Linked DNA regions of Homo sapiens: all the other regions are linked to region 1. Evidence: promoter capture Hi-C in 16 types of primary human blood cells and fetal thymus (Javierre and others, 2016). All regions are on one chromosome and are shown on one strand. The core of a region is centred on a gene start or on the middle of the fragment in contact, and the rest is flanking DNA. Distances in the headings are between cores, read along the strand shown. Region 1 holds the start of GOT2 (glutamic-oxaloacetic transaminase 2). Region 2 overlaps LOC105371293 (a long non-coding RNA gene). Region 3 has its middle 6.9 kb from the start of PRSS54. Region 4 has its middle 34 kb from the start of PRSS54. Region 5 has its middle 39 kb from the start of GINS3. Region 6 has its middle 3.8 kb from the start of LINC02137.

Region 1 (4,950 bases), core at 1,820-4,319:
TGAGGTCTATCCATGGTGACATCTATTGAGTTCATTCACGTTAGTAGTTCTGTAATGCTCCATCATGAGACTGTAGCAGAACATCCATCTCTTCCTCCATCGATGGGCGACTAGGTTGTTCCCTGTTTTGCTTTTATAAACAATGCTTTACTGACAGCCTTAAAAATGTGTGAGAAGATCTCTAGGGTTTATACCTGGACATGTAATTGTTTTGGGAATAGTAGTTGTTATGTGTTGAAATGTGCCCCCAAAAAAGATACGTTTAAGTTCTAACCTGGGGAACCCATTAATGTGATCTATTTGAAAATAGGGTCTTTACAGATGTAATCAGGCGAAGATGAGGCAATTAAGATGCACCCTACCCCAATATGATTGGTGTCCTTAAAAGAAGAGAAGAGACAGACAGGGAGAGAACACTGTGTGACACCAGAGGCAGAGATTAGTGATGCCTCTAACAGCATACGAATGCCCAGGAGTGCAGACAATTGCCAGAAGCTAGGAGAAGCATGGAACAGAGTCTCTGAGACCCCATAAGGCACAAACCCTGCCAATACCTTGATTTTTGATTTTGGGCCTCCAGAATTGTGAGTGAATAAATTTCTGTTGTTTTAAACCACCCAATTCATGGGGATTTGTTACAGCAGTCTGAGCAAACTGATGTACTGGTATGTTTGAAATTCTTGTTTCTTGGTGCTGTAAAGAAATAGCACTTGAACATAAATTTAATTTCCTCAGCAAGGCCATCTTTATACTTTCGGCAGAAAGGGTACACTCGACAGCAGTTTTGCCATGAGAGTACACCAAACAAAGGAGACAAGGTCACTTATAACCTGATACATCCACCTTGCTGCTGTGTCCGGTTTTCATTGGCTGGAACAGGTCCTCACATTTTGTATTTGTTCTGATTGGCTAGCAACTTAGAACTTTTTAAAAGAGGCAAAGGCAGAGGAGAGCAAAGGAAGGAGGAAGTAACTTGTGGAATGCTGAGAAAGGTAAAAACACCTTCAAATAAGGAAGAGGAACAGGCTATGACCTAATGCTTGCTTGGACCAGTATAAGCATGCCAGGGCAAATATTTAGGCTAAATGGTGGCAGCTAGGAACATAAAGTACATTGATTTCTTTATTATGGCTAGCAGATATTTAAGACTGTTAGTACAGGTCTTTGAATACATTTTGTTTTTAAGAGAAGTTACTATTTATTTCTAATTAGACAGGGAGGAAAGTCTTTAAAGAAGAATCTCTACTTTACTTTTCACAGGTAGAATCCCAAGTCATGGCCTATAGGCGCATAGGTCAAGGTCATATGAGAGCATAAGGGTCTGAGACAGTAAATTGGAGCTGGGCCGGAAGGACCTAGAATGTGGCCCTAAGTAGGGGTTTAGACTTTACCATTCAGGCAACGTGGAGCCACAGAGGAGATATTAAATTGCCAAGGTACACAGTTCTATCTCGGTTTTATTTTATTTATGTATGTATTTATTTATTTATTTAGAGCCAGCGTCTCACTCTGTTACCCAGGCTGGAGTGCAGTAGCGCAATCCTGGCTCACTGCACTCTTTTTTTTTTTTTTTTTTTGAGTCGGAGTCTGGCTCTGTTGCCCAGGCTGGAGTGCAGTGGCGCGATCTTGGCTCACTGCAAGCTCCGCCTCCCGGGTTCATGCCATTCTCCTGCCTCAGCCTCCCGAGTAGCTGGGACTACAGGCGCCCGCCACTATGCCCGGCTACTTTTTTTTTGTATTTTTTTAGTAGAGAGAGGGTTAGCCAGGATGGACTCGATCTCCTGACCTCGTGATCCGCCTGCCTCGGCCTCCCAAAGTGCTGGGATTACAGGCGTGAGCCACCGCGCCCGGCCTGCACTCTTGAATTAATGGGCTCAAGCAATCCTCCCTCCTCAGCCTTCTGAGTAGCTGGAACAGGCACGCAACACCACATCCTGCTAATTTTTTTTTATTTTTTTAAGAGATGGGGGTTTCATCTTGTTACCCAGGCTGGTCTCAGACTCTTGTTTTCATGCTATCCTCCTGCCTCAGTCTACCAAAGTGTTGGGTTTACAGGCATAAGCCAACACACCGGGCCCCTACCTTGGTTTAAGAGACGAGTATCAGAGAAATAGACTACACATGAGAAAGACTCGTTTGACTTGTGGATGTGTCTGAAATTCATTTGCTTTTTCCTTTAAAACCGATTCATTTCCTTCAAAACCGATTCATTTCCTTCCACAAACAGTTATCAGGATTTGACATACACGAGTTTGTCATTAATGACCATGGGTTATTTTGTGCTTACTAAATCAGGCCCTGTTTTAGACATAATCTGCTAATCTTATTAATCCTCACAACTGCCCCACAAAATACACATGCGACCCTCTCCATAAAAGGGATAAGGAAGCCAGGTGCGGTGGCTCATGCCTGTAATCCTAGCAGTCTTGGGAGACTGAGACGGGCAGATCACTTGAGATCAGGAGTTTGAGACCAGACTGGTCAACATGGTGAAACCCCCGTCTCTACTAAAAATACAAAAATTAGCCGGGCGTGGTGGTGGCACCTGTAACCCAGCTACTCGGGGAGCTGAGGCAGGAGAATCGCTTGAACCTGGGAGGCAGAGGTTGTAGTGAGCCGAAATCACGCCACTGCACTCCAGCCTGGGTGACAGAGTGAAACTCCATCTCAAAAAAAAAAAAAAAAAAAAAAGGGTGGGGGATAAGGAAACATTCAGGAACGACGTGACATGACTTGTGCTTAGGGAAACTATTAGGGTTGAAAGTAAGGCCACCTTGGGTCCTAATGGCTGTAAGGCATCAGACAAAATACGTCAACTATGTCAGCCTACATTTTCTCATCTTTCAAACTGCCATAACAGCAGCCACCTCTTCGGCCGGCCAGGCCTGGCCCAGCTGGATTAAATGAATGAAGCGCAGCAAGGGCTGGGCGTAGGTAAACTGTGCAGTCATCCTCTTCCACGACCTCCGCTGAGCCCACGCCGCTCCGCCCGCCGGCCGCCAGGGATCGCTGTGACGTGGCTCGGGCCCAGCACGCGGCCGCTCTGGCCCAGGGAAGTCCCTGTCCTTACCTTCAGCAGGAGCCGGTTCCCTGTGTGTGTGTCCGCTCGCCCTCTGCTCCGTCCTGCGGCTGCCCACTGCCCTCCTACGGTCCACCATGGCCCTGCTGCACTCCGGCCGCGTCCTCCCCGGGATCGCCGCCGCCTTCCACCCGGGCCTCGCCGCCGCGGCCTCTGCCAGAGCCAGGTAAGCCAAGGGAAACGGAGATGGAGCCAGGGCGATGGCCCTGCCCCGCCGAGCTGCGAGCACCCCAGGACATTCACCCCTCCCGGCCCCCAAATACACACTGTCACTCACACGCACACACACACACTTTTCTGCCACCCCCTCGGCTTTCCCTTACTGGGGACTGAGGATTGAGCGTCCGTGCCCCACAGTGATCCTCAGGATCCCACATCCCTCTGGTCCCCGCACTGGGCCCTGCAGGAAGGCGTGCAACGCAATCCCTAGGGAAAGGAAGTGTGGCCCTCGGCGGTTGCCGGACTCCCATTCAGTGGGAGGGGTGCGGATAGTACTGGGGCAGCGGCGCCGGGTAACGACCGTGCCCTTGATAGGGTGCCCTGGGGGCGGCGGGCGCACCTGTCCTGGCCCCCGGCCCGCCCGAGTCGGTGGGCCGGCGGCGGCTGGCTGCCGCGTGTGTGCCCTGGGCGGGAAGAGCGCGAGAGGAAGGTTTCCGGGGCGCCGGCATTCGGGCCTCGCTTTCCTTCCCGCACCTGCGACCTTGGCGTGCGGCATTCTCCTGACCTTGCGACCCCCCGAGGTCCCTGTGACCCCGGGGCCCGTTTGGCCTTTGCTTGGGAAAGGGTCGAGGTGTAGTGTGTCTCTTTTTTTGTTTTGTTTTGTTTTTTCCTTATTGCCCCTAAGGAGGTCCGGTTGCAGGGAGGCTATCAATCTTCCTCTCCATCTCCCTGTGCTCTTTCATTCAGTAAATATTTCGTAACTGCAGTTTCTCAGAGCCAGGCTCTGGACCAGATGCCAACGATACAACTGTGAACAAGGCGAGGGAAGGACAATGACAAATGGTCATTGCTCAAAAAATGACAAACGTAATTTCGTACTGTGGCGTGTATAATAGTATGGAGGGAAATTTCAGAGCTTGAAACGAGCTCTAGTAATTCATTCCCAGTGGAGACCGGAGCCAGAAGATTAATTCAACTCAAGAAGCCGATTTGGAGCACTCTCCTTAAGCACTACCTTAATAAGGAACTGAGTTTTAAAACCACCCCCAAGCAGGTATTAACTGCAAGGAGCAAAGCGTAGCTTGGCCTTTCGTTTGAATGTATGCTCTGTGTCTTTCAGCCAGCAGAACTATCTGTCCTTTCCAAGGCCCCACAGCCTTGGCAGTACAGTTTTGCCCAGGCTTCGCACTTTTTTCTCTTCCTGACTTGGCTCCTTCCTGGCCCACTGTCAACGTGTGCTCTTTAAGTCTGCCTACCTAGTGGGCCAGAGCCAGGAGGAGTTATTTATGCAACAAATTTGGAAAACCAAAGGAGTGCTTAAAATTTCCGTCAAGAGAAAGTATGTTTCCCTATTGCAGTAATCTTAAAATAATACCTTGTTTTATGGATTTGGCTAGATCACCTGAAGCTCTAGTGCTTGGTGAAAATCCCTTGGGGTCAGGGTTAGTCATTCTTTCAGTTTGAGAGTCTGACTCATTTTTCTTTTCTGTATTTTTCTTACTAGAATGTAAGTTCCATGAGAGCGGAGACTTTACCTACTTTATATTCACTGTTACATCTCAGCACTATTAACAGTTGCTGGCATGTCTCTTATATTGGATATTTTTATTTTAAGCCCTGATTTTTCACGTAATGCAACGGAAACAAATACAGTATGACATTTTAATGTTGTATCTTAGATCAAAATCTGAACATAGGCTGGTCCAAGTGTA
Region 2 (4,950 bases), core at 718-3,217, 490 kb after region 1:
ATTTCTCTCATTATTTAATTTTCTTTGAAAGATAAATAACTTTATATAACAAAAATTATGTATTGTAGAGTTTACAACATTTACATTGTAGCTAAGCACGGTGGCTCATGCCTGTAATCCCAGCACTTTGGGAGGCAGAGGCCAGTGGATCACTTGAGGTCAGGAGTTTGAGATCAGCCTGACCAACATGGTGAAACCTTGTCTCTACTAAAAAAAATATGAAATTAGCCGGGCGTGGTGGCACATACCTGTAATCTCAGCTACTTGGGAGTCTGAGGCAGGAGAATTGCTTGAACCCAGGAGGCAGAGGTTGCAGTGAGCCCAGATCGGGCCATTGCATTCCAGCCAGGGTGACAAGAGCAAAAAACTCCATCTCAAAAGAAAGAAAGAAAGAAAAAAAAAACATTTACATTGTAGAGTTTATAAGTGAAATGTATGACAATGATAGTAGAGGAGAAATGGGAGTGTGATGGTATAAAGTTCTTATACTATACATAAAGTGGTATAATAACACTTGAAGATAGACTGTACTAAGTTAAAGAAATGTACCATAAACCCCAAAGCAATGACAAAAATGACACAGCAAAGACATAAAACTAAAAGAGTAGCTTTAACTCTAGACTGAATGTCTAGACAATGTGGTAGACAGAACAATGGCCCGCAAAGATATCCAGGTTCTAATCATTGGAACCTATGAATATTACCTTGTAAAGGGGGAAAAGGTCTTAACAATTTTAGCGATTAAGTTAAAGGTCTTAAAATGGAGTGGTTATCCTGGATTATGTAAGTGGGCCCTAAAAGCAATCACAAGTGTCCTTACAAGAGGGAGGCAGAAGGAGATTCTACTACAGAAGAGAGAAAGCAATGTGACAACCTCAGCAGAGAGAGACTTGAAGATGCTATGCTGTGGACTTTGAAGATGGAGGAGAGGGCCTAGGAGCCAAGGAATGCAAGGAATGAAGCTCTAAAAACTGGAGAATTCTCCCCTTAAGCCTCTAGAGAAAATACAGCCCTGCTGAGTGAGACCCATTTTGGACTTCTGGCCTCTGGAACTATAAGAGAATAAATTTGTGTTGTTTTAAGCCACAAAGTTTGTGGCAATATATCACAATAGCCTATGAAACTAATACAGCTAAGTCAACAAAGGAGATAAAGTGGAATTATAAAATATTCGAATGGATCCAAAAGAAGGCAGAAAAAGGGAAATATAAACAAAAAGAACAAATAGAAGCAAGGCAATAAAGAAAAAATAGATAAGTTGGACTTATTAAAAACTTTTGTGCTTCATAGAACACCATCAAGAAAGTGAAAAGACAATCCACAGAATGAGAGAAAAATTGCAAATCATATATATGATGAGAGATTTATATCCAGGATACATAAAGAACTATTATTACAACTCAATAATTAAAAGATAAGCAAATAGGCCAGGCTCAGTGGCTCATGCCGGTAATCCCAGCACTTTGGGAGGCTGAGGCGGGCAGATCACTTGAGGTCAGGAGTTCAAAACCAGCCTAGCCAACATGGTGAAACCCTGTCTCTACTAAAAACACAAAATTTAGCCAGGTGTGGTGGCGGACATCACTTGAACCCGGGAGGCGGAAGTTGCAGTGAGCCGAGATCACGCCATTGCATTCCAGCCTGGCAACAAGAGCGAAACTCCGTCTCAAAAAAGTAATAAATAAATAAGCAAATGATTTGAATGGACATTTATCCAAAAAAGATATACAAGTGATCAATAAGCACATGAAAAGATGCCCAACATCATTAGTCATCATGGAAGCATAATATATAATAGAACATATAATATATAATTAAAAAGACAGATAAAAACAAGTATCAGTAAGAATGTGGAGAAATTGGAACCCCCATAAACTGCTGGTGGGAATGGAAAATGGTGCAGCTCCTTCAGAAAACAAAGTTTGGTTGTTACTAAAAGGCTAAACATAGAGTTACCATGTGATCCACCAATTCTACTCCTAGTATATACTCAAAAGAAATTAAAACACATATCCATGCATGAACTTGTACATGAATGTGCACAGTGGTATTATTTAAACTAACCAAAAAGACACAAATGCCTATCAACTGATGAGCAGATGAACAAATGTTGTATCTATAAAATGTAATATTATTTGGCAATAAAAAACGAATGAAGTATGGATACATACAACAAGGACAAAGCATGAAAACATTACGATAAGTAAAAAGAAAGAAAATCACAAAGGACCACATATTGTATGATTTTATGTATATGAAATGTCAAAAATAAGCAGATACATGGAGACAAGAAATAGATTAGTGGTTGTTTATGGCCGGGATAGGGAAAATGAGGGATAAGTGATGAATAAGGCATGTGGAGTTTCTTCTGGGGTAAGAAAAACGTTCTACAATTGACTGGGGTGATAGATGCACAACTTTTGAATATAGTAACAGTCACTGAATTTACTCTTTAAGTGGGTGAATTGTTAAGTATGTGAATTATATATCAATAAAGCTGTTTTTAAAAAAGAATAAGTAGAAAATATCAAGATGGTAGATTAAAATCCAACCATATCAATAATTACACCAAAGGGAATTGGTCTAAACATTCTGATTAAAAGGCAAAGGTTATCTGATTGAATAAAAAAGCAAAACCTAAATACATGCTGCCTATAAAAAATACACTTTAAATATAAAGACACAAGTGGGTTAAAAGTAAAAGGGAAAAAGATGCAAACACTAGTCAAACAATAATACAAACACCAAAGAAAGGTGAAGTAATTATGTTAATATCAGACATAGTAGATTTCAGAGCAAAGGATATTACCTGTAATAAACAGGGTCAGTTTATAATAATAAAGGGATGAATTCATAAAGACATGATATTTATGCATCCAATAAGACAGCTTCAAAATCCATGAAGCAAAAACCAATAGAACTGCAAGAAGAAACAGACAGACGAATTCACAATTAAAGACTTCAAAGATATCAACACCAATCTCTCAAAAATTGATAGGCTAAATGGACATAAAAATAAGTAAGGAAATAGAAGATTTGAGCAGCTTTATTAACTGAAGTGTCCTAACGGACATTTCTGAAACACTCCACCCAACAACAGCAGAACTCACATTCTTTCCAAGTGCACACAGAACATTACTAAGAAGACCATATTCGTTAAACAATAAATTTCAATACATTTAAAAGTATTTGCCATACAAAGTTATGTTCTCTCACCACAATAGAATTAAATTAGAAATGAAACAGAAAGACATTTGGAAAAACCTCTAATATTTAGAAACAAGATAACACACTCTTAAATCACAAATAGGTTAAAAAAATCAATAAGGAAATTAGAAAGTACTTTAAATTGAATAAAAATTAAACACCATATATTAAAATCAATAGTATGCATCCAAAGCAGTATTTAGACACAAATTTAAAATACTAAAATGCCTGTACTGCAGAGAGAGAGAGAGAGAGAGAGAGAGAGAGAGACCACCTTCATGGATCACAGCGCTAAATATTAAGCTATCAGTTATCCTGTAATTAATCTGTAGAGTCAATGCAACTGTAATTAAAATCCCATCAGACTTTATTTTTGTGAATTGATAAGCTGATTCTAACAGCCACACGGAAATTCAAAGAACAAAGAAAAAACAACTTTAGAAGAAAGAACAAAGGAAGAGGAAGAACAAAGTTGAATGACTTACATTACCTGACTGTAAGACTTGTTATAATGCTACAGTAATTGAGACAGCATGCCATTGGTGACAAATCAACAATGGATCAATGGAATAAAATAGAGTCCAGAAACAAATCCACACATATATATGAGCCATAGAACGCTATACATCATCCAAAAAAAAAGGAAAGGAATGAACCATGGACGCAGGCAACAACATGCATAAATCTCAAAATAGTTTGAGTGAAAGAAGTCAGATTTTAGAAAGAGTACATGCTGTATGATTCTATTTGTATAAAATGCTAGAAAGTGTAAACTAATTTACAATGATGAAGAGCAGATTAATGGCTGCTTGGGATATGGAGGGGGCAGGGAAGTGGGAATATGGTGGAGGGGATCACACAGGGGCACAAGGAAGCTTTTGGGAGCGATTTCATGGGTATAAACATATATCAAAACTTATCATCCAGACGCGGTAGCTCACACCTGTAACCCCAGCACTTCGGGAGACCAAGGCAGGCAGATCACGAGGTCAAGAGATCTAGACCGTCCTCGCCAACATGGTGAAGCCCTGTCTCTACTAAAAATACAAAACTTAGCTGGGCGTGGTGGCGTGCGCCTGTAGTCCCAGCTACTTGGGAGGCTAAGGCAGGAGAATCACTTGAACCAGGGAGGCAAAGGTTGCAGTAAGCCAAGATCATAACGCTGCACTCCAGCCTGGTGACAGAGTGAGACTCCAGCTGAAAAAAAAAAAAAAGAAAAAAAAAAAAAACTTTCTCAAGTTGTACACTGTACAATATTTATATACTTGCAGTTTGTTTTATTTCAATTACACCTCAATAAAGCTGTAAAGCAAACAAATAAACATGCTGTCTTCTCTACTCCAGCCTTGTCTACATCTAATCACCTACTCAACATCTGCACTTGCATGTGTAATGGACACGTAAAACTTAACATACCTCCACTAAACTCATGACTTTCCCCCTCCCTCCAAACCCATTCTTCCCCATCTCAGTATCTGACAACTTCATCCCTCCAGGACAACTTCATTACTCCTTCCAACAAACCTGGGAGTAATCCTTGACTAACTCTTAACTCTCCTCCTTCTCTCACCTCCACATCTGATCTGTAAGCAGATCCCACTGGCCCAACCTTCAGAGCAAAGCTAGAACTTGACCTCTTCTCATTACTACAACCACCCCAGTCCAAGCCACCATCATCTTTTGTCTACATTATTGCAGTTATCTCCTCACTCTGCAGTTTGTTGTGAGTCAATAAAACTGCAA
Region 3 (4,950 bases), core at 1,061-3,560, 430 kb after region 1:
AAAGCAGAGCGAAGATTCCTTAAAGAACTAAAAGTAGATCTACCATTTGATCCAGCAATGCCACTACTGAGTATCTACCCAGAGGAAAAGAAGTCATTATACAAAAGAGATACTTGCATATGCATGTTTATAGCAGCACAATTTAAAATTGCAAAAATATGGAACCAACCCAAAGTGGATAAAGAAAATGTTATATCTATCTATCTATATATAGATATAGATAATATATAAAATGTTATATATATACATACATACATATATATGTGTGTGTGTGCATATATATATATATATATATATATATATATATATATATATATATGAGTGGATAAAAAGGAAGGAAATAATGAGCATTCGCAGCAACCTGGATGGAATTGGAGACCATTATTCTAAGTGAAGTAACTCAGGAATGGAAAACCAAGCATCGTATGTTCTCACTTATAACTGGGAGCTGATCTATGTGGATGCAAAGGCATAAGAATGATACAGTGGACTTTGGGGACTCAGGGAAAAGGGGCAGTGAGGGATAAAAGACTACACATTGGGTACAGTGCATACTGTTCAGGTGATGGGTGCACCAAAATCTCAGAAATCACCACTAAAGAACATATCCATGTTTAAAAAAAAGAAAGAAAATGAATTTTCTTCTTTCTTAAGGCTGAATAGCATTCTATTGTGTGTATATGTACTACGGGTTTTTTTAAATCCATTTATCCATTGATGAACACTTAGGTTGCTTTCATATCTTGGCTATTGTGAATAATGCTGCAATGAACACAGGAGTGCAGATATCTCATTGACACAGTGATTTCATTTGTATACACACCCAGAAGTGGGATTACTAGATCATAGGGTAGTTCTATTTTTAATATTTTGAGGAACTTCCATATTCCTTCCCATAATGGGTTTTATATTCCCACCAATAGTGTACAAGATTTCCTTTTTTTCCACATCCTTGCCAACACTTGTTAGTTTTTGTCTTTTTGATAATAACAGGTGTGAGATGATTTATAGTTTTGATTTGCATTTCTCTGATGATTAGTGATGTTGAACATTTTTTCCATATACCTGTGGGCCATTTGTGTGTCTTCTTTTGAGAAATACCTATTTCAGGTTCTTTGTCAATTTTTTAATTGGGTGATTTATTTTCTTGTTATTGAGTTGTTTGAGTTTCTTATGTATTTTGGATATTAACCTCTTATCAGAATGTATGGTTTGAAAATATTTTTTCCCATTTCATAGTTGTCTCTTTACTCTGTTGGTATTTTATCTTTTTTTTTTTTTTTTTTTTGAGATGGAGTCTTCGCTCTTGTTGCTCAGGCTGGAGTGCAATGGTGCGATCTCGGCTCACCGCAACCTCTGCCTCCCAGGTTCAAGCTATTCGCCTGCCTCAGCCTCCCGAGTAGCTGGGATTACAGGCATGCGCCACCACGCCCGGCTAATTTTGTATTTTTAGTAGAGACAGGGTTTCTCCATGTTGGTCAGGCTGGTCTCAAACTCCCAACCTCAGGTGATCCGCCCACCTCGGCCTACCAAAGTGCTGGGATTACAGGTGTGAGCCACCGTGCCTGGCCCTGTTTTGTTTTCTTTCTTGTGAAAAACAAACAAACAAACAAATAAACAAAAACACTTTTTAGTTTGATGCAATCTCATTTGTCTATTTTGGCTTTTGTTGCCTGTGTTTTCAAGTCAAATCCAAAAAATCATCACCCAGGCCAATGTCAAGAAGCTTTTCCTCTATGTTTTTGTCTAATAGTTTTATAGTTTCAGGTCTTAAGTTTAAGTCTCTAATCCATTTTGAATTTATTTTTATGTGGCATGAGATAATGGCCTAATTTTATTCTTCTACATGTAGACATCCAATTTTCCCAAGACCATTTATTGAAAAGACTATTCTTTTCCTATTGCATGTTCTTGCCATCTTCGCTGAAGATAAATTGACCATAAATGTACAAATTTATTTCTGGGTGCTCTATTCTATTCTATTGGTCTATATGTCTATTTTATGGTACCATACATATATTTTGAAGTCAGATAGTATGACGTCTCCAGCTTTGTTCTTTTTGCTTAAGATTGCTTTGGCTATTCAGGGTCTTCTGTGGTTCCATACCAATTTTAGGATTTTTTTTCCATTTGTATGAAAAATGTCACTGGAGCTCTCTCCTGATGCCATGTAAGACATGCCTTGCTTCCCCTTGGCCCTCCACCATGATTGTAAGTTTCCTGAGGCATCCCCAGCCATGCAGAACTGTGAGTCAATTAAACCTCTTTTGTTTATATATTTAAAAAAAAAGAAAAGAAAAATGTCATTGGAATTTTGATAGGGATTGCATTTGATCTATAGATTACGTGGAACTTTTAACAATATTAATTCTTTCAATCCATGAATATGGGGTATCTTTCCATTCATTTGTGTCTTCTTCATTTTTTTCAGCAACATTTTATAGTTTTTAGCATACAGATCATTCACCTCCTTAGTTAAATTTATTCCTAAGTAATTTTTATGCTATTATACATGGGATTGTTTTCTTGATTTCTTTTTTAGATAGTTTATTCTTAGTGGACAGAAATGCTACTGGTTTTTGTATGTTGATTTTGTATCCTGCCACTCTACTGAATTTGTTTATTAGTCCTAACAGGTTTTTTTTGTTTTCTCCTTTCCTGAGGCTCAAACCTAACATTTTTTTGGTAGAATATTTAGGGTTTTCTATATATATAAAGTCATGTCATCTGCCAACAAAGACAACTTTACTTCTTTCTTTCTGATCTGGATGCTTTTTATTTCTTTTTCTTGCCTAGTTGTTCTGGCTAGGACCTCCAGTACTATTAATATATTTAATTGAAACGGTAAAAGTGGGCATCCTTGTCTTGTTCCTGATCCTAGAGGAAAAGCTTTCAGCTTTTCACTGTTGAGTATGATATTAGTTGTGGGCTTGATAATAATATTATCTCATAATATGACTTTTATTATATTGAGCTATATTCCTTCTATACTTAATTTGTTGTGAGTTTTTTTAATCATGAAAGGGTGTTGAATTTTATTAAATGCTTTTCTCCATGTATCGAGATGATAACAATTTCTATGCTTCATTCTGTTAATGTGGTATATCAGATTTATAGACTTGTGGTTGATGAACCATCCTTGCATTCCAGAGGTAAATCCTACTAGATGATGGTGAATGAAAGAAACCTGTGCTGTTCTCCTTGGAGAGGAAGAGGAACATGATGGGGAAGGGCCAACAAGGGGCTTCATATATACTCCGTGGTGATGTTCTAACATAATTCATAAACTGGGTTGCAGGTACCTCAGAATGTTGTTGCTTTTGTGTTTATGCTGTTATTGATATACATTAAATGTATTCTTTTGTATATACAAAATGTTCCACAATGTGTTTTTATAAAAACTCTATGAACATTAACCATGATGAAACACAAGTCTACTCTAACAAATAATTGTTTTCCAATGACTGCTGCTCTTTTTATTGTTGAAAAGACCTTACTGGCACTAGTCATTGATCAGACTTGGAATTAAAATGTTTAGGCATGAAAGATACTCCAAGCACAAGACCCGTGGATCAGTAAGGGTTTTTTTGGTCAGAAGCAACACAAACTGTCTCTGACTAGCATGCAGAAAAGAAATGTGCTGGTGGGATTTGAGATAGAACATAGAAGCTCCAACTCTCAGGGAGGACAGGACAGGGAAGAGCTCCTGATGTGGCAGTGGAGCCAAAGAACCTGCTGTTGGCCTAGCGTGGCAGCTCCAGCTGTTACACTCTTTTTGTCCCTTGGCTCAAGACTCAAATTCCAGAGATGAGGGAATCTGGTAGGGTTGGTTGCAGGTTTACCCTGGGCCTGTGGGACTATCAGCTCTGCATGGCATTATAGCCCCAACTCACAAAAATGAGGGGAAGGTTAAAAGAGGTTCAGTGAAGTGTAAAAACAGTGATGAAAAACAGAAGTGTAAATACTGTAACTCAGAAAAAGAGTGGCTGAGACTCTAATGTGAATCACTTTCACTGGGACATATGAATCTGAGAGTAGGATGAGTTCAAGCAAGCAGCCAAAAATTTGAGTGAATAAAGCCAAACAATAGAAACCAAAAATCCAAAAGTACAAACAGGAAGCACGATGACTACCTGGAAATTATGTTTTGCTCGACTGGGCATCCATTAGTCCAGCTTTGAGTGTGTACTATGTTGTGAGGCTCAGCCCCTTCAGCTTTGAGCATCACTGCAGACTAGGTGATCTGAGATGACCTCTCACTGCAAAACAGTGCAGAGGACACACCCTTTGAGTTATCCTTGCTCCCACTAACTTTAGGAGAAGATTCCAAGAAAAATGAGCTGCTAACCTCTGGGAGAGGAGGGGTTGCCTTAGGGGCAGCAGCACAGCTGTTAAAACACTTTACCAGCAGAGAGGGTAGGAAGCCAAGCCACAGTCCCTGGTTAGTGGCGCCCTCTGGTGACCAGTAGAGGCAGAAGCAACTTCTGTCTGGAAGAAAGTGTATCCAAGTTAGAGCCCTATATTAGGAACAAAAAATGAATTCACAATTATTAGGAAGGCACACAGGAAATGCAAGCCACATTGTGTGAGAGTAGATGAAACTAAAAACATTTGGAATCCCCCTCTCCCCCAAATAGCAGATCTTGGAACTGTCGAATACCAAATATAGAGCAGATATATATGAAATGGTTGCAGAAATAATGGATGTAATGACACAGATGAGCTCCTGACAAGATGCAACCAGAAACAAACAGGGAGATTTAAAAACATGTCTTCTAGAAATAAAAAAAATTGAATGTTGAATTTTTAAAAACCTCCAGAGGATGGTTGAACAGAAAATTAGACAAAGATGAAGAGAGAATTAATAAACTGGAAGATATGTCTACAGTAATCACCCAAAATGCAACACAAAGTGATAAAAAATTAAAATATGAAGGCTTTGATGAGATA
Region 4 (4,950 bases), core at 1,196-3,695, 410 kb after region 1:
ATTTGTTGCAGATGGGCTCACACCTGCTCCTTTCTCAGGTCTTATTCAGGTGTCCTCTCCCTAGAAAGTTGTTTTCAAGGGAGCCCCCTCCTCCACCGCCTCACCACTCAGCGGGGTGACACACCCCTTCCCCCCACACTTCATCACACCCAGGACAGGCTTCTTCCTGAGCACCCTGAACTCAATTGCCACCATCTGTTACCCCTCACCGTCATCCCAGATCACAAGCTTTCTCAGGGGGGGCACCATCCTTCCTTCTATTTCAGTTTCTCCAGGACTTGGCACAGAGGGGAGCCTAAGAAATGTTGCGTGAATGACTGACTGAGTGAAGGAATAAATAACAGTGATAAATGACTTTGCGAGTGAATCGGTGAATGAATAAATGAATGAATGAATGAATGAGTGATTGAATGGAAGCGAGGTTCACAAGTCCCTTGTAGCATTTCTTTCATCCATGTAGCTTGCCCAGAGCTTTCAAAACAACTTCTGAAACGTTCTTTTGGGAGCAGGACTTTGATTTCTCTTACATGTTTATTTCTGCAAAATTGAGTAGCTTTACCGCTGGCAGATAGAAGGTGTTCCCAATTTCTTTTCTTTTTTTTTTTTTTGAAACAGAGTTTCACTCTTGTTGCCCAGGCTGGAGTGCAATGGCATGATCTCAGCTCACCACAACCTCCACCTCCCAGGTTCAAGGGATTCTCCTGCCTCTGCTTCCCGAGTAGCTGGGATTACAGGCATGTGCCATGACGCCTGGCTAATTTTGTATTTTTAGTAGAGATAGGGTTTCTCCATGTTGGTCAGGCTGGCCTTGAACTCCCGACCTCAGGTGATCTGCCCGCCTCGGCCTCCCAAAGTGCTGGGATTACAGGCGTGAGCCACTGCCTCCGGCCAGGTGTTCCCAATTTCTTAATTGTCAAGCATCTCTTGCCATGACAGCCAGCCTCTGCACATTGGACTCACCTGGGGGGCTTTAAAGCCATACTGATGCCTGGGTCTCACACCCAATGTCTGAGTCAATTGGTCTGGTGTAGTCAGAAAGGCAATTATTAAAAAGTCAAGAAACAACAGATGCTGGCGAAACTGCAGAGAAATAGGAACGCTTTTACCCTGTTGGTGGGAATGTAAATTAATTCAACAACTGTGGATGGCAGTGTGGCAATTCCTCAAGGATCTAGAACCAGAAATATTTGACCCAGCAATCCCATTACGGGGTATATATTTGGGTATATACCCAAAGGAATATAAATCATTATATTATAAAGATACATGCACATGTATGTTTATTGCAGCCCTATTCACAATAGCAAAGACTTGGAACCAACCCAAATGCCCATCAATGATAGACTGGATAAAGAAAATGTGGTACATATACAGCATGGAATACTATGTAGCCATAAAAAGCAATGAGATCATGTTCTTTGCAGTGACATAGATAAAGCTGGAAGCCATCATCCTCAGCAAACTAACACAGGAACAGAAAACCAAACACCTCTATATTCTCACTCATAAGTGGGAGATGAACAATGAGAATACATGGACACAGGGAGGGGAACAACACACACTGGGGCCTGTCGATGAGGCAGGGGAGGGAAAGCGTCAGGACTAATAGCTAATGCATGCTGGGCTTAATACTTACATAATGGGTTGATAGGTACAGCAAACCACCATGGCACATGTTTACCTATGTAACAAACCTGCATGTTCTGCACATGTATCCCGGAACCTAAAATAAAATAAAAATTTTTTTAAAAAATTGGTCTTGGGTGTGACCAGGACATGGAAGATTCTAAAAGCCCTTAGATGATTCTAACGTGCCTCCAAGTTCACAAACCACTGCATTAATGCTTGGTTGCAGTTTTCTTAAATGGTTTTTTAAAAAATAGAGACTGGGTCTTGCTCTGTCACTCAGGCTACAGTGCAGTGGCACAATCATGTTCACTGCAGCCTTGATCTCCTGGGCTCAAGCAAGCTTCCCACCTCAGCCTCCAGAGTAGCTGGGACTACAGGTGTGTGCCACTACGCCTGGTTACTTTTATTTTTAAAGTCGCAAGCCATGACTCTAATGTTCCCTTATGTGGAAACAGAAGGATATTCAGCACAACCATGGTAGATGCTTGATTTTGCTCTAGAATTTGATGCCATTTCTTTGAGTCTTATTATATTTGGGACCTGAAAGCTGGTAGCTTCTTGGGATTATAGGCATGAGTCACACAGCCTGACCCCACTTGCTCTTGCACAATAGTTTAAGGCTGCCAAAGTGAGAAATTTTTAGGAGCTCGATAAACCTGGAGGCTTATCTTTCTCTCTTTCCTAGTCTGTAAATAAACAGAGCAAGGTGAAGCCAGCATCATAATGTGACATTCCAAGCTTTACATAGTCACTTAGGTAACAATCTATTAAAATTTTATATTTATAGCTAAAACATCTTTTTTAGCTCCATATGTTTGATTTGTTAAAACTATTATACCTTGCTTTTGAAGAAACAAAATGCCTAACCTCCATGTTTTGGTTAAATAAGCTTAAATATTTGTTGTTTTGGGTGATATTTTGTTGGCAATGTTTGTTGTTTCTCTTAGTACAATGTGACAAAAAGTAATCCACTTCAATATTCATGACTAATTCTTAAATTAGATATGGTTCTGTCTAATGACTTCACAAATACTAGCCTTCCTTAGTCTGGATTTTAAAAATTATTATGGTAAAAAACACATTACATAAAATCGACCATAACATAAAATCGACCACTGTATTATAGATTTTTTTAATAATTTTTTTTTGAGACAGAGTCTCATTCTATTACCCAGCCTGGAGTGCAGTAGAGCAGTCTCAGCTCACTGCAGCTTCAACCTCGTGGACTCAAGCAATCCTCTCACCTCAGCCTCCCAAGTAGCTGGGACCACCATGCCTGGCTATTATTTATTTATTTATTTGTATTTTTTGTAGAGACAGGGTTTCACCATGTTGCCCAGACTGGTTAACCATTTTAAAGTGTACGACTTAGGCATGTTAAATACATTCTCAATGTTTTGCAACCATCCCCACTATCTAGCTCCAGAACTTTTTCATCATTTCTGTACCCCATTAAGCAGTCATTCTCCATTCTCTCTCTCCACAGGATTCCATTTATATAAAATTTCCAGAATAGGCAAATCCACAGATGCAGAAAGCAGATTAGTGGTTGCCGGCGGGGTGGGGATGGGGAGAAATGGGGAATGGCTGTTAATGAAGATGGGATTTTTTCTTTTCTTTTCTTTTCTTTTTCTTTTTCTTTTCTTTTTTTTTTTTTTGAGACAGAGTCTCTTGCTGTCGCCCAGGCTAGAGTGCAGTGGTGCCATCTCGGCTGACTGCAACCTCCACCTCCTGGGCTCAAGCGATCCTCCCACCTCAGCCTCCCAAGTAGCCGGGACTACAGGCATGCATCAGCATGTCCAGCTAATTTTTGTATTTTTTAGTAGAGATGGGATTTCATCATATTGGCCAGGCTGGTCTCAAACTCCTTACCTCAGGTGATCCTCCCACTTCAGCCTCCCAAAGTGCTGGGATTAAAGGCGTGTGCCACCACCTGGCCAAGGGATGGAGTTTTTTCAGTGGTAATAAAAATGTTCTGGCCAGGCATGGTGGCTCACGCCTGTAATCCCAGCACTTCAGGAAGCTGAGATGGGCGGATCACCTCAGGTCAGGAGTTTGAGACCAGCCTGACCAACATCGAGAAACCCCGTCTCTATCAAAAATACAAAATTAGCCAGGCGTGGTGGCGCATGCCTGTAATCCCAGCTACTCGGGAGGCTGAGGCAGGAGAATCACTTGAACCCGGGGAGGCAGAGGTTGTGGTGAGCTGAGATCGTGCCGCTGCACTCCAGCCCAGGCAACAAGAGTGAAACTCCGTCTCAAAAAAATAAAAATAAAAATAAAACAAAAATGTTCTAAAACTGGTTATAGTGATGGATGCACCAACCTGTGAATATGGTAAAAAACATTTTTGCACCTTAAGTGGGTAAATTGTATGGTGGGATGTGAATTATATCTCAGTATATCTGCTTTTTAACAAAACCAACAAAACACCTTATGTCTAACTTGTTGAGCTCCAAATAAGCCTTTGAGTTGTGATATTTATTGTTTTGCTAAAGTGTTTCACTCTGGGAAGTTTAACAAAATGAGCACCTCACCTCAGGCAGCTCTCAAAGGGAAAACAAAGTTCCTCATCCTTACTTCTTGGGCAGACTTAACTGACTGCTGTATTTTATTTTTCTTACTTCCAGAGTGTTTTAAGAGTAGGCATTTTCCTCTGAGTACAGCTCTAGTGTTATCCATGAGTTTTTATATGGAGTGTTTTTATTAGCATTATTTCCCAAATATCTTATAAATGTATTTTTGCTCTAGAGCAGTTCCATAGAAAGGCTTGACATTCTCAAACGTCTTTCTGCATCTACTTTTTATTTTATTTTATTTGTTGCCAACTACAAAAGACATCCAATGCTTCTACTTTTAACTTATTTCCTGCGTTCTTGCATTATGATCAGGAATATGACGGTACAATTTCCAATTTCTTATATACAATGGGCTTTCCTTTTTATTTTATCTCATTGTGTCAAGAACACTTAACATGAGAGCTACCCTCTTAATAGATTTTAAAGTGTACAACACAATACTGTTATTTATAGCTACATTGTTATACAGAGGATCTCTAGAACTTTTTCCTCTTGAATAACTGAAATTTTATATCCACTGACTAGCAACTCCCCATTCCCTCCTCCCTCCAGCCTCTGGCAACCACCATTTTATTCTTTCTTTCTATGAGTTTGACACCATATAAGTAGAATCATGTATTTGTCCTTCTGTGATTCGCTTATTTCTCTTGGCATCCTGTTCTCCAGGTTCATCCATGTTGTCACATAACAGGATTTCTTTATTTTAAAGGCAGAATAATATTCCATTGTGTGTATTATTTAT
Region 5 (4,950 bases), core at 1,638-4,137, 380 kb after region 1:
AGCAAACTGAGTCCAACAGCACATCAAAAAGATAGTATAGTGATCAAGTCATATTTATTCAGGGATGCAAGAATGGTTTAACATGTGCCAATCAATAAATATGATATACCATGTCAACAGAACGAAGGACAAAAACCATATGATCATCTCACTAGATGCAGAGAATGCATTTGATAAAATTCAACATCCCCTCATGATGAAAACTCTTAACAAATTAGGCATAAAAGAAACATACTTCAACATAATGAAGGCCACATATGATAAACCCGTACCTAACATCCTACTGAAAGGAGAAAAGCTGACAGCCTTTCTCTATGAACTGGAACAAGACAAGGATGCCCAGTTCCACCATATTATTCAACATGGCACTGGAAGTCCTTGCCAGAGCAATCAGGCAAGAGAAAGAATGAAGTGCATCCATTTGGAAAAAAGGAAGTCAAAATGTCCTTCTTTGCAGAAAGTACTCTTATATATAGAAAAACCCATCAAAAAACTCAGAATTGATAAACAAATTTAGTAAAGTTGCAGGATACAAAATCAACTTATAACAATCAGTAGCATTTCTGGCTGCGCATGGTGGCTCATGCCTGTAATCCCAGCACTTTGGGAGGCCAAGGCGGGTGGATCACCTGAGGTCAGGAGTTCAAGACCAGCCTGGCCAACATGATGAAACTCTGTCTCTACAAAAATACAAAAATTAGCCAGGCATGATGGTGGGTGCCTATAATCCCAGCTACTCAAGAGGCTGAGGCGGAAGAATTGCTTGAACCCAGGAGGTGGAGGTTGCAGTGAGCCAAGATTGTACCATTGCACTCCAGACTGGGCGACAGAGTGAGATTCCGTCTCAAAAAAAAAAAAAAAAATCAGCAGCATTTCTTAACACCAATAATGAACTAGCTGAAAAAGAAATTGAGAAGCTATCCCCCATCTACAATAGCTACAGAAAAGTAAATAAAATACCTAGGAATAAATTTAACCAAGGAGGTGAAAGACCCCTACAATGACAACTACAAAACACTGATGAAAGAAATTGAAGAGAACACAAACAAATGGAAAGACATCACATGCCCATGAATAAGAAGAATTTATATTATTAAAATAACTATACTACACAAAGCAATCTATAGATTCAATGCAATCCCTATAAAATACCAATAACATTCTTCACAGATATAGAAAGAAAATTGTAAATTTTTCTGGAACCACAAAAGAACTTGACCTTGAATATTCAAAGCAATCCTGAGTAAAAAGAACAAAGCTGGAGGCATCACACTACCTGACTTCAAAATATAGCACAAAGCTATAGTAAACAAAACAGCCTAATATTGGAATAAAAGCAGACACATAGCCCAAAGGAACACAATAGAATACCCAGAAATAAACCCACCTATTTACAGACAACTGATTTTCAACAAAGGTGTCAAGAACATACACTGGGGAAAGCACAGTCTCTTTAATACATGGGGAATGCTGGGAAAACTGGATATCTATATGCACAAGAATGAAACTAGATCCCTGTCTCTCACTAGATATAAAAATCAACTAAGAAGGGATTAAAAACTTAAACATAAGACTCAAAACTATAAAACCACAAGAAGAAAACATACAGAAAATGCATTAGAACATTGGTCTAGAGCCTAGACAAAGGTTTTACGGCAAAGACTTCAAAAGGACAGGCAACAAAATCAAAAATAGACAAATAGGACTATATTAAACTAAAAAGCTTCTGCACAGCAAAGAAAACAATCAACAGAGTGAAGAGACAACCTGTAGAATGGGAGAAAATGTTTGCAAAATATTCATCCAACAAGGAACTAATATCCAGAATATAGAAGGAACTCAAACAATCAACAATAAAAACAAAAACAAAACAAAATAATCCCATTAAAAACTGGACAAAGACATTTCAAATAGACATTTCTCAAAAGAAGACATATGAATGGCCAACATATCTATGCAAAAATGCTCCACATCACTAATAATCAGAGAAATGCAAATCAAAACCACGATGAGATAACAGCTCACCCCAGTTAGAATGGCTATTATCAAGAAGACGAAAAATAGCAAATGCTGGTGAGAATGCAGAGGAAAGGGAACTCTTATACACTGTTCATAGGAATGTAAATTAGTACAGCCATTACAGAAGACACTATGAAAACTTCTTAAGAAACAAAAAATCGAACTACCATAAAATCCAGCAATCCCACTACTGGGCATTTACCCAAAGGAAAGGAAATCAGTATATCAAAGGGATACCTGCACCCTCATGTTTATTGCAGCACTATTGACAATAGCCAAGATATGGAATCAACCTCAGAGTTCATCAGTGGATGAATGGATAGACAAAATGTGATACATACATGCACACACACACACACACACACACACACACACACACACAAGAATACTGTTCAGCCATTTGCAGCAGCATGGATGAAACTGGAGGTTGTTATGCTAAGTGAAATAAGCCAGGCACAGAAAGACAGATATTGCGTGTTCTCACTCATATGTGGGTGCTAAAAAATTCATCTCATGGAGGCAGAGAGTAGAATGATGGTTACTGTTGTGGGAAGTCAGGGACCCTGAACGGAGGGACTGGCTGAAGTATGGCAGAAGAATGTAAATTGTGAAGATTTCATGAACATTTATTAGTTCCCCAAATTAATACTTTTATAATTTCTTATGCCTGTCTTTACTGCAGTCTCTGAACATAAATTGTGAAGATTTCATGGACATTTATCACTTCCCCAATCAATACTCTTGTCATTTCCTCTGCCTGTCTTTACTTTAATCTCTTAATCCTGTCATCTTCATAAGCTGAGGATGTATGTCGCCTCAGGACCCTGTGATGATTGCGTTAACTGCACAAATTGTTTAAACAATATGAAATCTGGGCACCTTGAGAAAAGAACAGGATAACAGCAGTGTTCAGGGAAAAAGGAAGATAACCATTAGGTCTGGCTTCCTGAGAGCCACGCAGAATGGAGCCATATTTCTCTTCTTTCAAAAGCAAATAGGAGAAATATCACTGAATTCTTTTTCTCAGCAAGGAACAGCCCTGAGAAAGACAATGCGTTCCCAGGGGGTAGGTCTCTGAAATGGCCACTCTGGGACTGTCCGTCTTTTACGGTTGAAGATAAGGGATGAAATAAGCCCCGGTCTCCGGTAGCGCTCCCAGGCCTATTAGGACAAGGAAATTTGTAATCCTAGCTACTCAGAAGGCTAAGGCAGGAGAATTGCTTGAACCTGGGGGTGGAGGTTGCAGTGAACTGAGACCCTGCCACCGTACTCCAGCCTGGGCAACAGGTGCAAAACTGCATCTCAAAAATAAACAAAATAAAATGAAATAAAATAAAAAAGATAAGAGGAAACACATGCTGAATGCCTACTGTACAGGTGGGCATTGAACTAGGTCAAGATGGTACCTGTCATAATCTCGGTGCTCCTCTCCTCGAAAACAGCTCTGCCCTAGTCCTGTGCAGAGGGATCAGTCACTTTCCACGCCATGAAACTCCACTCCTGGACCACTGATGCCCCAACCAGGGATGAGAGCTGACGCCAGATCATCCCACCCCTGAAGAATCAGCAGGCTGTGAAAGGCCCCACTGAAACCGTTCCACCCAATCAGGGTTGATGGTGATTAGCTGGGCATATTAGATTCTCTGCAGAGAATTTTAACTCAAAAATACAAGGGGAGACAGGGTTAGTGGCAAAAGCAGAAGATAGAAAGATGCATGGCAGGAGCCCATCAGGCACAGATTGCCATGAATAAACAGAAGCAATGAGGTAGAGAAAGGTGCAGAGTGGAGAAGGAGGTTGGATGGGAAAGTGGTGGGGACTGACCCAAACAAGGGCAGGGGGAGGGAAGAGGGAGGCAAAATATTCTGTTCTCAGAGCCAGGCTTCACTCTTACTACTACATGGGTCTCCATCAGGCCCAGCTGTGGCCGTTTCTGTGCAGTCTGGTAGGCAGGACCTGGCTGGGTGTATCTGATCTTTCTGTTGCAGATGCCTTCATGATAAACCCCTAATAAATCACCTGATAAGCTTCATAAGGCTTCATGATAAGCCTTTATGTTAAGCTTCATAAGGCTTCATGATAAGCCTTCCCATTAAACCCCAATAAATCGTCTTCGGTCCTCCAAAGCCTGCCTAACACAGGGGCTCTACTTTGCCACCTGGGTTAAAATTTTCTCAGGCACTTGGAGGTGCCCAGGCGTGAAATGGCCTGCAAGGTGGTGGAGCTGGGCTGTGAACTCAGTTTCCAAAGCTCATGGTGGTGGGGCTCTGTTCATGGCATCCTAATGTCTAATGCCTTAATTGATAAGGCAATGAATAAAGCTAACTGAGTCAACCACAGCCTCTTCCCAGGTTATGCAATGCAGGCTCTTATTCAATACAGGCTTAGTTTTTATAAATCATATGTTTCCCTTTGCAGAAGACTGCAACTCTTCGGTAATCTTCGGGGCGGTACCAGATGGTATCCCAACCCCTGTGTGTATGTAGCCAGCTCATTTCAACTTGGTGACAGTGATACAGGAGGCAAGGAGGACAGAAAACGACTAGATTATGTTTATGGTGGTTGGTATTGTATGATTAAGTCATTGTTTTGTCTGCCCTGAACCTCTTTCTCCCTCCTCTTTCTTGAAAATTAATGGTTTATTTATAATTGATGCATAATTGTATATATTTATGGGGTATCATTTGATGTTTCTGTGCATGTGTACATTTGCACAATGATCAAATCAGGCTAATTGCCATATCCATCACTTTCAACATTTATCATTTCTTTGTGATGACAACATTCAAAATATTATCTTTTAGCTATCTTGAAATATACACTACATTGTTTTTTGCTGTAGTCACCCTACTGTGTAAGAGAACACCAGAACTTATTCTTCCTGTCTAACTGTGATTTTGTACCCACTGACCAACTTCTTTGGGTACCCCT
Region 6 (4,950 bases), core at 1,011-3,510, 320 kb after region 1:
CCTATTTGGGTTCTATTTTTATTAAAACCCCATTAGCTTGTTTCTATCGGAGCAATTAAAGTGTCGAGGCCTGATGCTCTGCAGGGGCTGTGGAGGAGGCGCTTTCGTGAGAGCAACTGTTCTCAGGCGGAGAACTTTCTTTTCAAAAGGACCCCTGGGGCCTGAAGTCTCAGGCTTATTCTCAGCCCCAGGTGGGTTTTCTTAGTGGATAATTTGGTAACATCCTCTGCAGCTGGGCTTGAGTTAATGAGGTTGAAGATCACCTAATTTTCCCCCTTCCTTTTTTTTTCTTTCTTTGCCTGATTTTGTAACTCACAGTCTAAAGGCTTCCAACCTGTTCCAGCAAATGTTAATTCTGTTCACACCTTGCCAAGTGTGAAATTTCACCCAGCACAGCTGTGCAGACGCATTTCTGTTTCTACCCTGGCACCTTAAAATCAGCTAAACCCACCCAAGCTGGGCTCTGTCCTCATTCCACGCCGGGGTGGGCACAACCTGCTGGCTAGGGTGTGTCCCCATGACACGACTCTGTGCATCTTAACACGTCAGCACACTCTGGAACTTGACAGCTTGCAATTCGGAGGCCATGAATTCAGCACGTGTTAGGCTCCGTGCTCTGTGCTCTGGAGGACTCAGTAGGTCTGGGGTGGGCGCTGGAATCTGTAGTTCTAGCAAATTCACAGGTGGTGCTGATGCAGCTGGCCTGGGGACCACACCTTTGAGAACCACTGTGGTGGGTTTATTTATTTATTTTTTTTGAGACGGAGTCTTGGTCTGTCACCCAGGCTGGAGTGCAGTGGCATGATCTGGGCTCGCTGCAAACTCCACCTCCCGGGTTTAAGTGAGTCTCCTGCCTCAGCCTTCTGAGTAGCTGGGACTACAGGCCACACCACCATGCCTGGCTATTTTTTGTATTTTTAGTGGAGACGGGGTTTGCCATGTTGGCAAGGCTGGTCTCGAATTCCTGACCTCAAGTGATCCATCTTGGCCTCCCAAAGTGCAGGGGGATTACAGGCATGAGTCACTGCAGCCAGTTCCTGTTATGGACTTTTGCTTAAAAGTTACCTTCCCCGGAGGCCCTCCAGTCACACACAGCCTGACTTGGAAGGTGGCCCTGCCAAAGGCTCTCAAGGCAATGTGTATGGCCCGTCCTGGGCTCACACTTGTGATGATCTAATAATGTCCTCCCACTCCCTGACTGTCAGCTCCACCCCTACGGCCAGCTCTATCATATTCATGCCTCAAAAGATCTGCTCTCTGCCTCCTCCCCACTCCCTCATCTCCTGTCACTCTCATCCACACCTCTGCCACCCAGGCCTGCTTTTGTTTCTTAAAGCAGGCCAACCAAGCCACACACTTCTCACCTCCTCTCACTGCTTGGAATGATGACCTCCTCTGGGCTCTTCACCCAGCCAGCTCTGCATCTTTCCTCAGAGAGCCCCTCTTTGGACTCACTAAAGAAGGTCCCTGAAAGCCGGGCAAAGTGGCTCACACCTGTAATCCCAATCTTTGGGAGGCTGAGGTGGGATGATTGCTTGAAGCCAGGAGTTCTAGACCAGCCTGGGCAACATAGTGAGAACTCCGTCTCTATAAAAATTAAGAACAAGAAAAATTAGCCAGATGTGGTGGCACACACTTGTAGTACTAGCTACTTGGGAGGTTGAGGCGTGGAGATCGCTTGAGCCCAGGAGTTCAAAGCTGCAGTGAGCTAGGGTTGTGCCACTGCACTCAAGCCTGAGTGACAGAGCGAGACTCTGTCTTTATTTACACATGCCCTTTAATTCACCTCACAGATCTTATTGTAATCCCGTTTATAGTCCGCCTTGCCCTTTACAGTGTAAACTCCACAGGGCAGTGAGGGATGACCATTCCACTCCTGACTTCAGACCCTCACTGGAGGGGCGAATGAATGAGTGAATAAGTGGGATTAATTTCTGCTGTCAGTGAAATTCCCAGCAGAAGAAGCCAGAAAACAGCCAAGCCTGCCCTGCAGGGGACTGTTTGAACTGTGTAGCCTCTGCTTTCTCGGATTCCCCCTTCCTCCGGACCAACCATGAGCCACCCATCACCTGTTTTGAGCAAGGCAGTTGGGGGTGAGGCAGAGAGAAGGAGGCAAGGGAGTTTTTGCAACAGCCAGAGCTGCAGATTAGACACATGTAATCAATCCGGAGAGCCACACAGTGTTCTGCCAACTGAGATACCCAGATTAAACAGACCAAGGGCCCCTGAGGCAAAATGTCATGCAAAATAACTTTTCAAAAATAGCAGCTTGCAATCTCGAGAATGAGCACGGGTTGTCAATGACATGAGCAGTCTTTTGAAACAGAAGGAGGAGTCCTGTTTTTACTGCAGATAATGGTGATATGACATAGGCATAGGTTGGGCCAATTTTGCCAAAGGAGACACTTAGAAGGGATAGCGAGTCCTATAGAAATGGCGTTGGGAGGACCAGGACTGAAGCGAGAGACGCCTGATAGTGCGGTTGGAAGAGGGGATGGCGAGTCCTATAGAAACGGTGTTGGGAGGACCGGGACTGAAGCGAGAGACGCCTGATAGTGCGGTGGGAAGAGGGGATGGCAAGTCCTATAGAAACGGTGTTGGGAGGACCAGGACTGAAGCGAGAGACACCTGATAGTGCGGTGGGAAGAGGCTGCCCTGGCCTGCTCTGTTGCTCATCGCACAGTGCAGCAGAGCAGAGAAGAGTCGGATCTCAGGATCAGCCTGACCTGGTTTCCAGCCCTGGGCCCAGCACTGGTTGCTGTGTGACCTTCGGCACACACTTAACCTCACTGAGTCTATTTCTTTATCTGTAAAAGGGGGATAACAATAATTCATCTCTTAGGGTTTTTGTGGAAATTAAATGAGATAATACATATAAAATTAGCTGGGCATTGTGGCAGGCACCTGTAATCCCAGCTACTCAGGAGGCTGAGGCAGGAGAATGGCTAGAACCTGGAAGGTGTAGGTTGCAGTGAGCTGAGATGGCGCCACTGCACTCCAGTCTGGGTGACAGAGTGAGACTCTGTCTCCACAAAAAAAAAAAAAAAAAAAAAAAAAAGAACACCTGTAAATCAGTAAAAAGATAAACAATCCAGTAGAACAATGGGTAAAACACGTAAACAGGCATTTCACAAAAGAGGAAGCATAAATGGCCAATGAATATATTTTAAAACCAGGGCCTGTTGTTGGGTGGGGGGAGGGGGGAGGGAAAGCATTAGGAGATATTCCTAATGTAAATGACGAGTTAATGGGTGCAGCACACCAACATGGCACATGTATACATATATAACAAACCTGCACGTTATGCACATGTACCCTAGAACTTAAAATATAATAATAAAAAAAATACAGAAAAAAAAAGAAAAAAAATTTAGCCAGGTGTGGTGTTGCATGCCTGTAATCCCAGTGATTCAGGAGGCTGAGGCAGGAGGATCACTTGAGGCAAGGAGTTCAAGACTAGCCTGGGAAATACAGCAAGATTCTGTCTCTAAATAAGTAAAAGAAGTCAGGTGTGGTGGCATGTACCTATAGTCCCAGCTAGTCGGGAGGCTGAGGTGGGAGGACTGCTTGAGCCTAGGAGTTCAAGGCTGCAATGAGCTATGATCCCACAACTGCACTCCAGCCTGGGTGACACAGGGAGACCTTGTTTCTAAGGAAAAATAAAAAAAGATACTACAAAGAAAATTAAAAGACAAGCTACAGAATGGGAGAATTTTGCAACACAGATAACTGACAAAGGATTAGTATAAAGAACACCTATACTGGCCAGGCGCGGTGGTTCATGCCTGTAACCCCAGCACTTTGGCAGGCCGAGGTGGGTGGATCACCTGAGGTCAGGAGTTTGTGACCAGCCTGGCCAACATAGTGAAATCCTGTCTCTACTAAAAATACAAAAATTAGCTGGGCGTTGTGGCAGGCACCTGTAATCCCAGCTACTCAGGAGGCTGAGGCAGGAGAATCGCTAGAACCCTGAAGGCATAGGTTGCAGTGAGCTGAGATGGCGCCACTGCACTCCAGCCTGGGTGACAGAGCAAGACTCTGTCTCCAAAAAAAAAAAAGATCACCTATAAATCAGTAAAAAGAAGATAAACAATCCAGTAGAACAATGGGCAAAACATGTAAACAGGCATTTCACAAAAGAGGAAGCATAAATGGCCAATGAATATATTTTAAAATGTGCAACTCATTAGTACTCAGAAAAACGCAAATCAGAATAACATTTATATATATAAATTTATATATAAAAATTCTTTTGTGATAGAGTCTCATTCTGTCACCCGGGCTGCAGTGCAGTGGTATGATCAAGGCTCACTGTAGCCCTGAGCTTCTATACTCAAGCAGTCCCTCTGCCTCAGCTTCCCATGTAGCTGGGACCACAGGTGCATCCCACCATGCCTGGCTTTTTTTTTTTTTAAAGTAAAGATGGGGGTCTTGCTATATTTCCCAGACCGGTCTCAAGCAATCCTCCCACTGGCTTCTTAAAGTAGTGAGATTATAGGTGTGAGCCACTGTGCTCGGCCACAGTGAGATATTTTTTAATACCCATTAAATTGGAAAAAAAAAAAAGAATTCTAATAATGGAAACTCTTATACACTGTTGATGGGTGAATAAAGTCATGTGATTTGGCGGAAGCTTGTGAAGTAGAGCACTGGCAGACCCTATAAGCCAGCACTTTCACTTGGGCGTTCATCCCAGAGGAATGCATGCTGTGTAAGAATCCGCACAGTGACAATGTTTGTAATAGAAAAAAAGCTTGGAAATGGACCAAATGTCTGCTGATAAGAGAACACTTATAGAAGTTGTGGCATGTTCCCACAATAGAATAATATACAGCAGTAAAAATGAGCTGCGATGACATGATTGAAAATTAAAATTGAGTGAAAGAAGCAAGATGCAGCTGACTGCATGCAACAGGAACTTAGTTTTACAAAGTTTGAAAACAAACCAGT

The links. Contacts are between HindIII fragments. The CHiCAGO score rates a contact against its expected background, and 5 or more counts as called.
Region 2: a contact is called between a fragment that was not itself captured here and the fragment with the promoter of GOT2 in region 1, in 1 of 17 cell types (total CD4 T cells). The highest score is 5.1, in total CD4 T cells.
Region 3: a contact is called between a fragment that was not itself captured here and the fragment with the promoter of GOT2 in region 1, in 1 of 17 cell types (naive CD8 T cells). The highest score is 5.0, in naive CD8 T cells.
Region 4: a fragment that was not itself captured here is called in contact with the fragment with the promoter of GOT2 in region 1 in 9 of 17 cell types (total B cells, total CD8 T cells, total CD4 T cells and 6 more); the score reaches 10.8 in total B cells.
Region 5: a contact is called between a fragment that was not itself captured here and the fragment with the promoter of GOT2 in region 1, in 1 of 17 cell types (naive B cells). The highest score is 5.0, in naive B cells.
Region 6: a fragment that was not itself captured here is called in contact with the fragment with the promoter of GOT2 in region 1 in 1 of 17 cell types (naive CD8 T cells); the score reaches 5.4 in naive CD8 T cells.

The regions. Positions count from the first base shown.
Region 1 is chr16:58,732,435-58,737,384 of GRCh38, reverse strand. It overlaps GOT2 (glutamic-oxaloacetic transaminase 2), which reads left to right and starts at 3,069. Exons shown (of 10, transcript NM_002080.4): 1 at 3,069-3,245. The coding sequence starts at 3,157. RefSeq lists enhancers at 2,945-3,024, 2,724-3,342 and silencers at 3,465-3,554, 3,655-3,744. The HindIII fragment of the contact is 10,522 bases long and covers 1-4,950 here.
Region 2 is chr16:58,237,796-58,242,745 of GRCh38, reverse strand. LOC105371293 (a long non-coding RNA gene) reads left to right here. Exons shown (of 4, transcript XR_933630.2): 4 at 4,135-4,173. Among named protein-coding and RNA genes, the nearest start is that of CFAP263, 9.7 kb to the left of the region's middle. The HindIII fragment of the contact is 4,235 bases long and covers 1-4,084 here.
Region 3 is chr16:58,299,453-58,304,402 of GRCh38, reverse strand. No RefSeq gene overlaps it. Among named protein-coding and RNA genes, the nearest start is that of PRSS54, 6.9 kb to the right of the region's middle. The HindIII fragment of the contact is 1,163 bases long and covers 1,729-2,891 here.
Region 4 is chr16:58,326,636-58,331,585 of GRCh38, reverse strand. No RefSeq gene overlaps it. Among named protein-coding and RNA genes, the nearest start is that of PRSS54, 34 kb to the right of the region's middle. The HindIII fragment of the contact is 151 bases long and covers 2,370-2,520 here.
Region 5 is chr16:58,351,065-58,356,014 of GRCh38, reverse strand. No RefSeq gene overlaps it. Among named protein-coding and RNA genes, the nearest start is that of GINS3, 39 kb to the left of the region's middle. The HindIII fragment of the contact is 2,323 bases long and covers 1,726-4,048 here.
Region 6 is chr16:58,415,001-58,419,950 of GRCh38, reverse strand. No RefSeq gene overlaps it. Among named protein-coding and RNA genes, the nearest start is that of LINC02137, 3.8 kb to the left of the region's middle. RefSeq lists an enhancer at 1,974-2,083. The HindIII fragment of the contact is 4,750 bases long and covers 1-4,635 here.